2 separate regions of the Homo sapiens genome follow, and region 2 is linked to region 1. Evidence: promoter capture Hi-C in human tissues and cell types (Jung and others, 2019). All regions are on one chromosome and are shown on one strand. Each heading gives the region's core, a stretch centred on a gene start or on the middle of the fragment in contact. The rest is flanking DNA. Distances are from core to core; before and after follow the strand shown. Region 1 holds the start of NIPAL4 (NIPA like domain containing 4). Region 2 has its middle 150 kb from the start of SGCD.

Region 1 (6,433 bases), core at 1,090-3,589:
AAAGCAGGTAGCATCTGGCCTCCTAAGAGGCTTTTTGTTTGTTTTTGTTTTTGTTTTTTTGTGTAGAGATGGGGGTCTTGCTATGTTGCAGAGGGTGGTCTGAACTCCTAGCCTCAAGCTATCCTCCTGCCTCAGCCTCCCAAAGCACTAAGATTACAGACGTGAGCCACCGTGCCTGGCCCTAAGAGGTATTTTAAAATAGAAAACATTTAAAAATTGGGAGATTTTCCATGAAAATTCAGATGGGAGGCTACGGTGAAAAATCAGATCTGCTTACCATATTGGGCCCTCTTCTAAGGCAACAACTGGCTGCAGCTGGGCAGTGTTGCCCCCTAAAATAGGACATACTCTCTGCAGTTCCCCAAGAGTCTTATCTGGCTCCTTTCAGTAATTTCTAGCACGTGCTTGGCCTTTGTAGGCATCTGAGTTTGTTACCTCTGGAGGTAGCCTTTTTCAAGCTGTGTGTCACCAAGGCCCAGGTCCCTATGCCAAGGATGTAAGCCTCAACCAAGTATTTCTCCCACCAACCTAGAACTCCCAGGCAGTGCCTGGAAGGGCCCCAAAGTCCATGGTCAAGCAACTCTGGCTCTGGCACATCTGCAGGGCAGAGTGGCATCTTGGTGGAACAGACTAAAGGCAATGTTGACCTTTCTTCCACGACACAGACCCATGAATAACAGAGCTTGAAGAGCCCTTAGAAAGCAGTCTAAATTCTTATTTTTTCTGGGGAAACTGAGGCCCTGAGAAAGGGAAGAGCTTGCTTAAGTCACCCCAACATCTGGTGAAAGATCTGGATCCAGCACCCACTGGGGCACATCCATGTGTCTTTTGCAGTGTGATATCTCTCTTTCCAAAACTCGTGTCACAATCAAGGGAAGATGAGACAAGAGGCATCTCAGTCCCTAATCAGACTTGTTCTGCACTGCTCATTCCTGTTTCTCCAGCTCAGGCTTCCTTGCCCAAGAGCTGAATCTGGGGAGTTCCCTGAGCCCAGGAAATGAGCCAGAACCTGGGAGAACATGGGCTAGGGGAGGTGACTCCTGAGAGGAAGACCAAACTCATCCCCACGCCCTTCCCCTGCTCCCTGAAGGTGCACCTCTAGCAGATGGAGCCAACGAACCCTCTGTGGATGGACTTGGCTGTCACAGTAAAGCCCGCAACACCCAAGGGCTGAGCATCCTCCATTGAGTCAAGTTCTCCCACTGCAGTGAAAAGTAAAAGACAGAGGGCTGATGGCCAAAGTAATCCAATTCTGAGCATGGGCCAGATGATTCCTGTTATCTCTTCCAGAATATGCTAGGACTGGGGAACACATTCTGGCCTAGAGAAAAGGTGAGGCTGAAAATGCCTGCCTTGTTCAGGAAACCAAAGTCAGACACCTAACAGGCTGGCTTTGAAAGCTTCACTGTAGAAGGGAAGAGGTTAGAGAAACAGGGACATGCCACAGCCTGCAGTTCCAAGACAAGGTAGGAAAGTGGAGCCACACCAAGGAAGGAGTTGAGGTTTTACTGTCCACCAGCCTTGGATCTATATTCCATTTCCTCACTGTATTACCTTGAGCAAATTATTAGCTGCTCAGAGCCTCAGTTTCTGGATCTTTAGAGTGGGGATAGCAAGATAGTAAAATAATAATACCTACCTACCTTCTAGAGTTGTTTTAAGGATTCAGTGAGATAATGCGGGTAAAGGGCCTAGTCCACTACCTGCTTTATGGTCAGAACGCAATAGGAAGTCAGGGGTCTTTCTTTACCCCTTCCTGTGGTTCTTTTTCTTTTCCAAAGACAAGACCGTCCTGTGATGGTCCTCCCATTGACCCAGAGAGAAAGCCCAAACTGCGCAGGTACTAAAACCTGAAGCAACTACACATTAAAAACACAGAATCCTCCCCCCGCCCCCACCACCTCTCAGGGTGTCTGCTGTCGTCAAAATGCCTGCCCCCCACTAACCCCCCATCTCAACCCAGGGGACATACTTTCCTTCCCTGACTCCTCTCAGCCATCCCAGCTGCGAAGATGAAAGTGAAGTCTCAGCCAGAACCCAGATCTTCAAAGCTGGGTGGGAGCCACCTCGTGCTGGCCCTGCCCCTCCCCAGCTTTGGCCCCCCTGGGAGGAGAGGATGCGAGGGAGAGCGGTGGCAAGGAGGGGAGGGCGCGAAGCGCGGAGCCCGCCTGGTCCCCAGCCCTGCCGTACGCACCGTTCTCGCAGCTGGTGTTGCTGACCCGCAGCTCCATGGGGCCCGGGGCACACGAACCGACGCGCGGGCGGACGGCGCCCGGGCTCCCCAGCTCCGGAGCAGGTGGCCGCGACTTGTCCCCCGCGTGGCTCGCGCGCGAGAAGCCGCCGGGGTCCGGACCCAGGGGTGGGGAGAGTGACGCGTCCCAGAGTGGGAGAGTCCCCGGGGAGGAGTCACCCGGCATCTTGGGCAATTCCGGGGGCAGGGGGCCCAGGGCTGGGGCCGCCCGCAGAGGGGCGCATGCCTTCCTGGGGTGAGGACGCTGCCAGGCTCCCAGCTCTGGAGTCACCGCCCCGTGCTAGGGGCAAGAGGTGAGGAGGCGGGTTCCCCGGCACCGCTCCTCCGATGCCTGCACCGGCACCCAGCTCCATCCCCAGGGAAAGAGTACAGGGGACCTAGATGGCTGGAGAAGGGGCAACTTTCCTGCCGAGGTGGAAGTGGCAACATAGGGGTTGGAAGTGGGTACTGCTGCCAATTGGGAACCTGGGTTCCTTCTTTTCCTTCCTTCTCGCCCTCCTACCCTCCCCCTCTCCTTCCTCCCCTCCACCTTTCCTCCCTTCCTTCCATTTCACCCTCCTGCCCTTCCTCCCTGCCTTCTGCCCTGCGACCTCCTTTCCTTGCCTTACCCGTTCATTGATTCAACCCAGGTCTGATCTGTGCTGGTAGGTAACAGGTACATAGTGAGTTAATGCTCAATATATATTTATGTCTAATGAATAGATAATAGGAGCTTGGTAAATTAAATGAAAGAAGGAAATGAAGTGATTGGAGACCAAAATGAGTCAGACTATTCCCTGTCCCCCAAGTACCTTATATTTTAATGGGGGAAACAAAATGTGATCATCTCTTAGAGACCAATGTTTTTGAAATTACCACTTTAAAATTATTTATACACACACACACATACACACGTTGTGATGGAAAGCATATTTGTTACTATGGGTAACAGTAAAAAGCAAGTTAGAAAACCACTGACCTGGAGCATAAAAATAGGTATGTAGAGTTTGCTATAGGCCAGGCAGAGTTCTAAGTGCTGAAAAATTCCAGTTCATTTAATCTTCATGACCGCCTTATAATGTACAGACTTTTATTATTTACCAAAAGGAAACTGAGGCACAAAGTGCTCAAGTAACTTGCTGGGGATCTCAGCTGAGAAGCAGAAAAGCCAGGATCAAACTCGTGCTGTCAGTGGTCACATTAAGCCGCCTGGCATTTTACACTGAAATAAACTGCTCCTGGGCAGTGAGGGTGTGGGGCTACTGAGAAAGCAGTGATTGGTTCTGCCAGTGGTGCTCACCGGCTTCCTGGAGGAGGCAGCTTTTAAGAATTGTTATGTATGGAGTCGTCAGCATGGGCCAGACACTGTGCTAACCCCTTTCCAGGCACTGTCTCATCGAAGCCTCCTAGGAGACAGATATCCTTACTCTTTCCATGCTACAGATAAGAGGAAACTGTTATTTTTAAAAATTTTATCATGAGATAATTTTAGACTTATAGAAGAGTTACGAAAATAGTATAGAGAGTTCCCATATACCTGTCACCAGCTTCCCTTAATGTTAACATCTTGTATAGGAATAGAAAAAACTGTCCTTTAAATACTCTGAGACACTTGCTCCCAAGGTTGCACAGCTAGTGAACGAGGGTGCCAGGTGTAAACCGAGCTGCTCTGACCCCAAGCCTGTCCTCCTACCTACGACCCTCCACTGTCTACTTGCGGACCTCTAGCTGGGCCTCTAAGGATGGGTTCTCCCAGCATGGGGCTTCCTCTAATTTGCTGGATGACTTTAAACAAGTTGCTTACTCTACATAAGGATCAATTTCTTTGTCAAATGCAACAGCCCCTTCTCCAAGGGGTCGGGATCGGGTTGGGGAAGGGAGAGGTTAAAAGAGAAAGGGAAATGTGAGACACAGCAAATGTAACAAGCCACGTTTGCTCATTTTACTTGCTGCATAATTTCACAAGCCCTTGATTCTGTAATGATGTGCACCTCTCTGGAAAAATGCTTTGAAAACAAAGCAGGATACAGCACAAGGCCCCCACAACTTTTGCCTGAGACACTATATTTCTTAAAAGATAAATGACCCTAGACCTTGCCTATTCCTACACATAGGATAATGTTTGACAAGGTTAGTGACTATGCCTCTATCATCTATAACCAGATATACTCTTGCACCCAGACTTTCATGTGATTCTGCTTTACTGTAACTTCTGAGCAAGTTTGATGTAATGTTTGAGCACATACTGCACTTCTGCTACGTGTATATCAGCTATGAGCTAAAACACTGTTTCAGAGCAGTGGGACAGGACCTCTCTGAAAGACTCCTCCCAGACTTTGTCTTCAGTCTCTAGTCCTCAGTAAGACTTCTGCTTTTTTTTTTTTTTTTTTTTTTGAGACAGAGTCTCACTCTGTTGCCCAGGCTGGAGTGCAGTGGCTCGACCTCGGCTCACTGCAAGCTCCGCCTCCCATGTTCAAGCGATTCTCCCACCTCAGCTTCCGGAGTAGCTGGGATTACAGGCGCCCACCACCACGCCCAGCTAATTTTTGTATTTTTAGTAGAGACAGTGTTTCACCATGTTAGCCAGGCTGATCTCAAACTCCTGACTTCAGGTGTTCCACCTGCCCCGGCCTCCCAAAATGCTGGGATTACAGAACCTCAGTAAGACTTCTGAATAAAACTAACTTTAATTCCTTAAAAGCTTGATTTTCTTTTAGTTGACAGAAGTCATAGCCATTGCCAACAGAATATATCCAAGTCTGCAGGTGAGTGTGCCCAGGCCCGCCTCTAACTTTGGAGGTGTGTGGTACCACCGTTCAGGTAGAGGGGAACACCTCCAAGACTATATGAATTTGAACACAGAGCAGCAAGACACTAGATGATTGGCCCTATTCGGAAGTGAGACTTCATGATGAAAAAATATATGCATCCATGCTACCTGCAAGGGAGAATTTGACAAGAGAATTCAACTTATCTTTCTCTTCTCTAAGCATTTCTGCTGTTCAGCTCCTCCTTGTGCTATAAAACGGAGTCAGCACTGAACCTGGAGTGGTACAGTCCTCAAACCCTCACTGCATTCAAACTTGACTGCTTTTATTCCAAGAACATAGGGTGAGAGATTCGGAGTATTTCCCTCTGGTCTGACCTTTTTTCTTCCTCGCTTTATTGAAGTATGACTGACAAATGAAAGTTATATATATTTAAAATGTACAACATAATGATTTGATATAGGTGTACATCGTGAATGATAACGACGATTAAGCTAATTAATACATCTATCACCTCACTTAGTTATATTGTGCGTGTGTGTGCATACATGCGTGTATGTTGAGAACACTTTAAATAGTGGCTTCTCTTAGTGGCCTTTTTGAATCACAAGAGAGGATGTTTCAGATTGTAGTTGCCAGAGCTAAGCCCAGATCCTGAGAGACAGATGCACATATATGTTCTTTAATGCATTTATTTTTGTATGTGTTTGTGATTTGTGGAACCTCTAAATTTTAGGGTCAGGGAAGGGGCCTCCTTGTCAGGGGTTAAGGGCAATATTGAGTTTATCCTATGCTTCAAGACCGGCCTTTTCAGAGTCAGGAGAATCTCATGTTTTAGGGCAGTGGCATGAGGGGAAGGAGGCTAGGATCCACTGCAGGGACTTTCACAACCTCACTGGGCCTCAGGCTCCCCATCTGTTCTAAAAGGGGGCTGGGCCTCAACAGGGCTGGCATCAGAGCATCTTGCCAGTGTAGACATAAAGGGCCCCATTGAACTGCAGTCTTCTCGGCTGCTTCCTGACAAAGCCCTTTTCTCCTCTAGCCACAATGGCCCTGTCAGGCAGGTAGCAGGGCCTGCAGCTTTGTCTCCCCAGAAAAGAACAACAGGGTTCACTGTCTGTTCCAGGCTCAGTCTCCCTGAGGAGGGTGGGTGGCTTACGAAGGGTCTAACAAGCCAGGGACAGATGGGTTCTGCCCTTAGCCAGCCAGCGACTGGTGACCCAGCCGCAGCTCTTTCGGTCAGTTATTCTGGGATGAGTAGGAAAACAAATTCACCAAAACCCAAGTTTTTAAAAACTTGACTTTTCCAAGTGCATGTCCAGATGTTTTAGGTTACAGAGCTGTGCCGTCCAATATGGCAGCTACCAGCTGCATGTGGCTTTTGAGAACTTGATGAGCCGCTAATCTGAATCGTGATGTGCTATAAGTAGAAAAC
Region 2 (6,433 bases), core at 2,468-4,967, 1.3 Mb after region 1:
ATGATAGCAAGTTTTTTAGTCCATGAACATGGTATAGCCTTCCACTTATTTAGGTCTTCCTTAATCACTCTCAGTAATATTTTGCATTTTTCAGCACTGAGATTATATATCTCTTTCCTTAGTTGTATTGCTAATTATTAGATGTTTTCTGATGCTATTTTTGGGGTGCAGAAAACAATTCTCCAAAATATGGTGCTTTGGCATGCTGAGCGCTTTTAAAATGAAAGGCCTCAGAAATAAGCTTCAGAACCAAGGTTTCTCTCTGTCCTTTCCTCACTTCCCTGACTCTCTGATCCTCCTTCCCAAAGCACTGAGAGAAACTCTGGAATTTCTTTATCTCACTAAGAAAGCTTATTTTCAAAAGAAATGCATTTGTCTTAAGACCATCTCCCTAGGAATCTCATCAATTAACCAGGAAAGAACAAACAGCAGAGAAGAGACAGAGTCATCATCACATCCAGACAAATTTTTAATTTATTCTGAGAGCAGCTCTAAGAGATTACCTTTGCTCTTGTGCAGTTCTACCCTTTGCCTTCCCCTTAACTTGTCCCACCCAGCTTCCAAAGAGAATCATTTACAAAATAATGTGTGCCTCCCAAATCCATACATCTCTTCCCTATGAAGAGAGTATTTAAGTCTCAATCATCCAGCCCCTCTTCAAGTCTCATAATTTGTGTATGGCCCTCATGTACATAAACATGTTAAAATAAATGTTGAATGCCTTTTCCTCCTATTAATCTGACTTTTGTCAGTTCATTTTCAGTGAATCTTTGGAGGGTAGAGGGTAAGCTTTCCCCTGGCCCCTCCATTATTATAAATGATATTTTAAATTTTCATTTTCTTAATATTTGTAGCTGGAGCATATATTGATTTTTTATTAAAATTACTTACTATAGGAATTTGTCTACAGAGTTTAAAATGTTTTTATCTACACAATCATGCTGTGAATACTGATAAATTTGTTTATTTTTTTGAGTTCTTATGTTTTTTATTTTAATTTATTGCTTTATTGTACTGGCTATGATCAACAGCACAACGTTTAAATGAGATAGGTGGCATCTTTATCTCATTCCCTATCTTAGAGTAAAAGCTTTTAATAGTTCACCATTAAGTATTATGGTTTGCTGTAATTTCTTAGCAATTTTTGTATATGTTTGTGATCAGACTAAGGAAATGCTATTGCAGTTTTTTAATAGTTTTAACAATTAATAGAAAATACTTTTGTGCTCAGAATATATTCATAGAGGTGAAAACTGAAGCACATTATCTTTAAGTTTCCCTTTAAAGATCATGTGGCAAGGAAGTTGCCTCAAAAACTACAACTTCTGACTTCAGTTCCAAGTAAAATACTATAAATATTTCCATCACCACATCTCTGAAGAATATATCCTCTTGTATTTTTTTATAGGTTTGCATGTTTCACCAACTGCAGTATCATAAATAAAAGTTGGGTCCAGGTGCTGTGGCTCACGCCTGTAATCCCAACATTTTGGGAGGCCCAGGCAGGTAGATCACTTGAGGTGAGGAATTCGAGACCAACCTGGGCAACATGATGAAACCCCATCTTTACTAAAAATACAAAAATTAGCTGGGCATGGTGGCAGGTACTTGTAATTCCAACTACTGGGGAGGCTGAGGCAGAAGAATCACTTGAACCCCAGAGGCGGAGAGGTTCCAGTGAGCCGAGATCACGCCAGTGCACTCCAGCCTGGGCAATAGAGTGAGAATCGGTCTCAAAAAAAAAAAAAAAAAAAGTTGGAAAATTATAACATATTCATTGGGGTGAGGAGAAGGGAATATATTACACAATCTATATGGAGGGCAATTTGTGAATATGCATTGAAAGCTTTATCATATGCACATCATTTGACCCTAAGATTTTCTTAAAGTGATATTTTAAAATACCAAACTCAGTAAGTATACAACTATGTATATACAACAAGAATTATTGAAACATTTTTTAATAATACAAAAGGAAACAAAATATCTTGCAATACGTAAATGAATAAATTTATTGTACACCCGTATAATGGGATTTTATATAGCCATGAAAAATTGCATGTAGCTGCACTCATTGTTTTTAAATATGATATCAGGATATAAGATTTTTTAAAAACCAAGCAGCACAGATAGAAAATCATTTTTGTTAAGAAAAAAACTATATGTATATAGTGCAAAAGTACATAGAAAATGTTAATAGTAAACATTTACTTACTTCCCCAAATGTCTATAAAACACATGCTTAGATGTGTATGTTAAAAATAGCACCATAAGGAAGCAATGATGAAAGCAGAAAACAATATTGTCAGTCACATGTCAACAGTCATTTTTCCTATTTTGATTCTGAGATTGTCATTTATTAGCCTAAAACCTACCTTTGATCTTGATTAGAGTATTTGTTAGTGAAAACAGTGACTATGCGTTGGACCTATTAGGAAACTATTAGTGTAAAGTTGTAGGCACTGCTAAAATCTCAAACAACATATATTGGCAATCATTAATACATTCAGGCTGGGCGCGGTGGCTCACACCTGTAATCCCAGCACTTTCTGAGGCTGAGGCAGGTGGATCACCTGAGATCAGGAGTTTGAGACCAGCCTGGCCAACCTTGTCTCTACTAAAAATACAAAAATTAGCCAGGCATGGTAGCCCATGCCTGCAATCCCAGCTACTTGGGAGGCTGAGGCAGGAGAATTGCTTGAACCCAGAAGGCAGAGGTTGCAGTGAGCAATCTCTGCTTCCATCAGAATGCCATCGTTCTATAGAAGGGGAAAACTAAGGCCCAATGGGTAAGATTTATCATTTGTCTATAAGATAAAATTATATTGAAAGCATGTGTAATATGTAGAACAAATAAAATAAAATTAACCTGAGATGCATATGTATAAAGACTCATAACTCTAATTTGTAAAAGAGATTTGTTGTGAGCATTCTTATATTCGTATAGTCCTGCTCTGAAAGCACAAAGAACTTCAAGCATTTGGCATGCATGATTAACTGACATTATAACAGAACAGGTCAAGCTGTTTTCTTAGAAATCTCTCTCCACGCTGACGCACTCGAAGCATTATCAAAACAGCATTCTCTTTAGTTACGATTCAGTTACACAAAGGGTAGACAGACAGTGCCCAACTTATAATGATTCAACTTATGATTTTTTTTTTCACTTTGGGGTGGTGAGAAAGCCACATGCATTCAGTAGAAACAGTACTTTGAATACCCACACAATCACAGTTTTTCACAGTATGTTATTCAATAAATTACATGAGATATTCAACATTTTATTATAAAATAGGCTTTCTGTTAGATCATTCTGCCAAACTGTAGGCTAACATCAGTGCTCTGATCACACTTAAGATATAGATTAGGCTTAACTATTATGTTCAGTAGGTTAACTGTATTAAATCCATCTTGACTTCTTATATTTTCAATATACATTGGATGAAATCCCATGGATTAAGTCCTCATCCTTAATGCTGCCAAGTGATTTAAAAAAATTCATTTTCTCTGTATCTTGTCAAATTGGTCAATGCCGCCCATTAAACAAATATTGGGTATTTTTAAGACTACCCTACCTAACAAGTCTACAGCAACAAAAATTAGATCCCTGGTTTTGTAGGACTGGGAGACTGTTTAGAAAGGAGGGAATGGACTGCAAAAAGACTTAAGGACTCTTTTGGGGGGTGATGAAAATTTTCTGTATCTCAATGGTAATTTCATGTGGGGATATGTTTGTCAAAACTAATAGAATTGTACACTTTAAATAGATGCAGTACATTGTATATAAATTATCCCTTAATATAGCTCATTAAACAAACAAACAAACAGCTCCCGAGATGCACAGGACCCTCAGGAGAACTGTATAATCAAGTAACAACTTGAGTTGCTGTGCCCATGTTTTCCAAGGCTTACATTTGCAATTTCTCTAGCTCAATAAGATAAACCCAAAAGCCACTTTTCAGACCATCAAGGTATTTTCCATTTTAAATATTAATATCTCTACCATTTAGAAAAGATTTACCTTGATCCCAGCACACAAGGCTCACCAGAAAAATTTTTTAAAAATACAAAATTGGGCCAGGCACGGTGGCTCACACCTGTAATCCCAGCACATTGGGTGGCCGAGGTGAGTGGATCACGAGGTCAAGAGATCGAGATCATCCTGGCCAACATGGTAAAACCCCGTCTCTACTAAAAATACAAAAATTAGCTGGGCATGGTGGCGTGTACCTGTAGTCCCAGCTACTCAGGATGCTGAGGCAGAAGAATCGCTGGAACCCAGGAGGCGGAGGTTGCAGTGAGCCGAGATCACGTCACCTCACTCCAGCCTGGGCAACAGAGCAAGACTCTGCTTCAAAAAAATAAATAAAAAATAAAAAATTACCTTAATTTGTTTTTGTTTGTTTTAGAGCTGGCATTCAAATTATCTGTTTGAAGTATGTATTCTTGTTTAGAGAAAAACTAGGGGTCCCTATGTCTTTTAAAAATCCTCATCCCTGACAATTTGTCACTTTGTAATTTTCCAAAACTGAAGGCAGATAAAGAAAAAATGGAGTAGACATTGGAAGAGAAAGAATATTTTTCAGAGATATTTAAACTACAAAAAACAAAATCGCAATTTACCAACAATTTTTCAGCTGTAATTATAAAACATATTGTTAGAGTCTTTTAGAGCCTGCAACAGAGGATTTTAAAAAGCACTCAGACTTCTAAAGTTCTGTGAAGTCAGTCAGAATAATTATTATTTTACATTGAATGATAAACATATGAGCTCTTCACCACCTTCTGAAAGTAAACAAAGCAGCACACACCATTTTCTTTAAAAAAAAATCACAAACACCTAAGATACTGAAACTAGATAGAAATTAGGATTTCAAAAATGGAACAGAGCTTCCTATGGGAGAGAAAGAAATACTTTTTTTGTCTTTTCAACATTTTTAATCTCCTAGCATATCAAAAAATGGCATAAGGTTTTCCTTAGAGATATTCCTAACCTATTTTTTCCCATTCTTCATATCTATAGTACGTTGCTATTTGAACGAAGCCTATAAGCCAATAACTTGAGGCACCTTGCCCTTAGAATTGACTCTGGCATATTAAAATATAAAAACTAGACAGTTTTGTCTGGCTGGGGTTGATAAAATAGGAGAACGCACTACTATTCAGTAGATTCAGTCATGCTCCTAGCAAGTACTGTGGCCATGATCACCACACGCACACAAACACACACACACACAAACACACACACACACACAAAGTATATTAGCTGAGTTCCATACTGCACTACACTAACTTAAAACCAAGAGAAACTTTGAAAATCGCAAGCAACTTTCTGAATGCCATTAATCTGGCATGGAGCAATAATTCTACTTATTCTATACCAGCCAAGTAACTTCTTTCACTTACTCCAAAAATAAAAAAAAAAAGATCCACAGAAAAATAGCCGCATGTATGCTTATTTAGGTAAGAATGTGTCCACCTGAGGTGATCATAAATCTTTACTCCTTAATTTAGGGTACCGTAATTTTGTATTCTTAAAATATAATCACATTTACTTTTGTTATTATTGATTAGGACCATCACAATTATATTAATTGACCTTCATCAGAAGTCAAAATAACAGCATGTCTTTCTAAAAGCCCATGACTTCCAAGTGAATTTATTTGGAGTATATTTCCATTTTTCTTTTATGCACAAGTAGTTACTGACTCCCTATTTTTCAAAAGATAAATTAAAACTGGAAACTCCTTATTGTATTTTATTTTCCACTGAGTAACAATATCTTAGAAAACATTTTCCTAGGTTAATTATTATACTTTGCATAATATTCTTTGCAAGAGGCTAAGTAAAGAATGGGATTGATAAAAATTGGCTCTGAGTGTAGAACAGAGATGAGACTAAGAGGTAAAATATGGTGTAGTTGGTGATTTGGTAAATGTTAAGGTACACGAATATTTTTTTTTTCTAAGTAGAGTGCGCTCACAAAATAAGAGCCAGGCAAATTTGTAAATTTTTTCCACTATTTCATCAATTCATATTTTACTATTTATTTTACTACTTTTTTTCTACATTCAAAAGTAACTGACAGGCATAGTTAACCCTTGAACAAGTACTTATGTATTAGGAAAATTCAAAATTATATGACTAATTAATACTTAGCAATTCATCCTAAATACCATAAATATTCTTGGTTATTTTTACAGTCTCTTTTCTCTATTCACCTATTAAATCAATTCTATGTTACCAATTAAGTTGGTGTTACTGGAATTCAAGAATCTCTCTTCAGTTGACTTTATACTATTGCTTCATGTAATATATCTCCTCATAACTAAATCTTACTCTTTCCCTAGACTCATTTATCTCTCCTAGTAAGTTTACTGTTCTTGCTTACATTTTGATCTTTTTTTTAAAATCCTATTCCCAAACCACTGAC

Evidence for each region. Contacts are between HindIII fragments. The study calls those that stand out against the background at their distance.
Region 2: a contact is called between a fragment that was not itself captured here and the fragment with the promoter of NIPAL4 in region 1, in 1 of the 25 tissues and cell types used here (H1 embryonic stem cells).

Annotation. Positions count from the first base shown.
Region 1 is chr5:157,456,119-157,462,551 of GRCh38, reverse strand. NIPAL4 (NIPA like domain containing 4) reads right to left here and starts at 2,339. Exons shown (of 6, transcript NM_001099287.2): 1 at 2,195-2,339. The coding sequence starts at 2,231. It overlaps NIPAL4-DT (NIPAL4 divergent transcript), which reads left to right and starts at 2,452. Exons shown (of 3, transcript NR_136205.1): 1 at 2,452-2,544. RefSeq lists a silencer at 2,286-2,445. The HindIII fragment of the contact is 8,008 bases long and covers 677-6,433 here.
Region 2 is chr5:156,174,942-156,181,374 of GRCh38, reverse strand. It overlaps a transcript of SGCD not described here. Among named protein-coding and RNA genes, the nearest start is that of SGCD, 150 kb to the left of the region's middle. The HindIII fragment of the contact is 4,498 bases long and covers 1,469-5,966 here.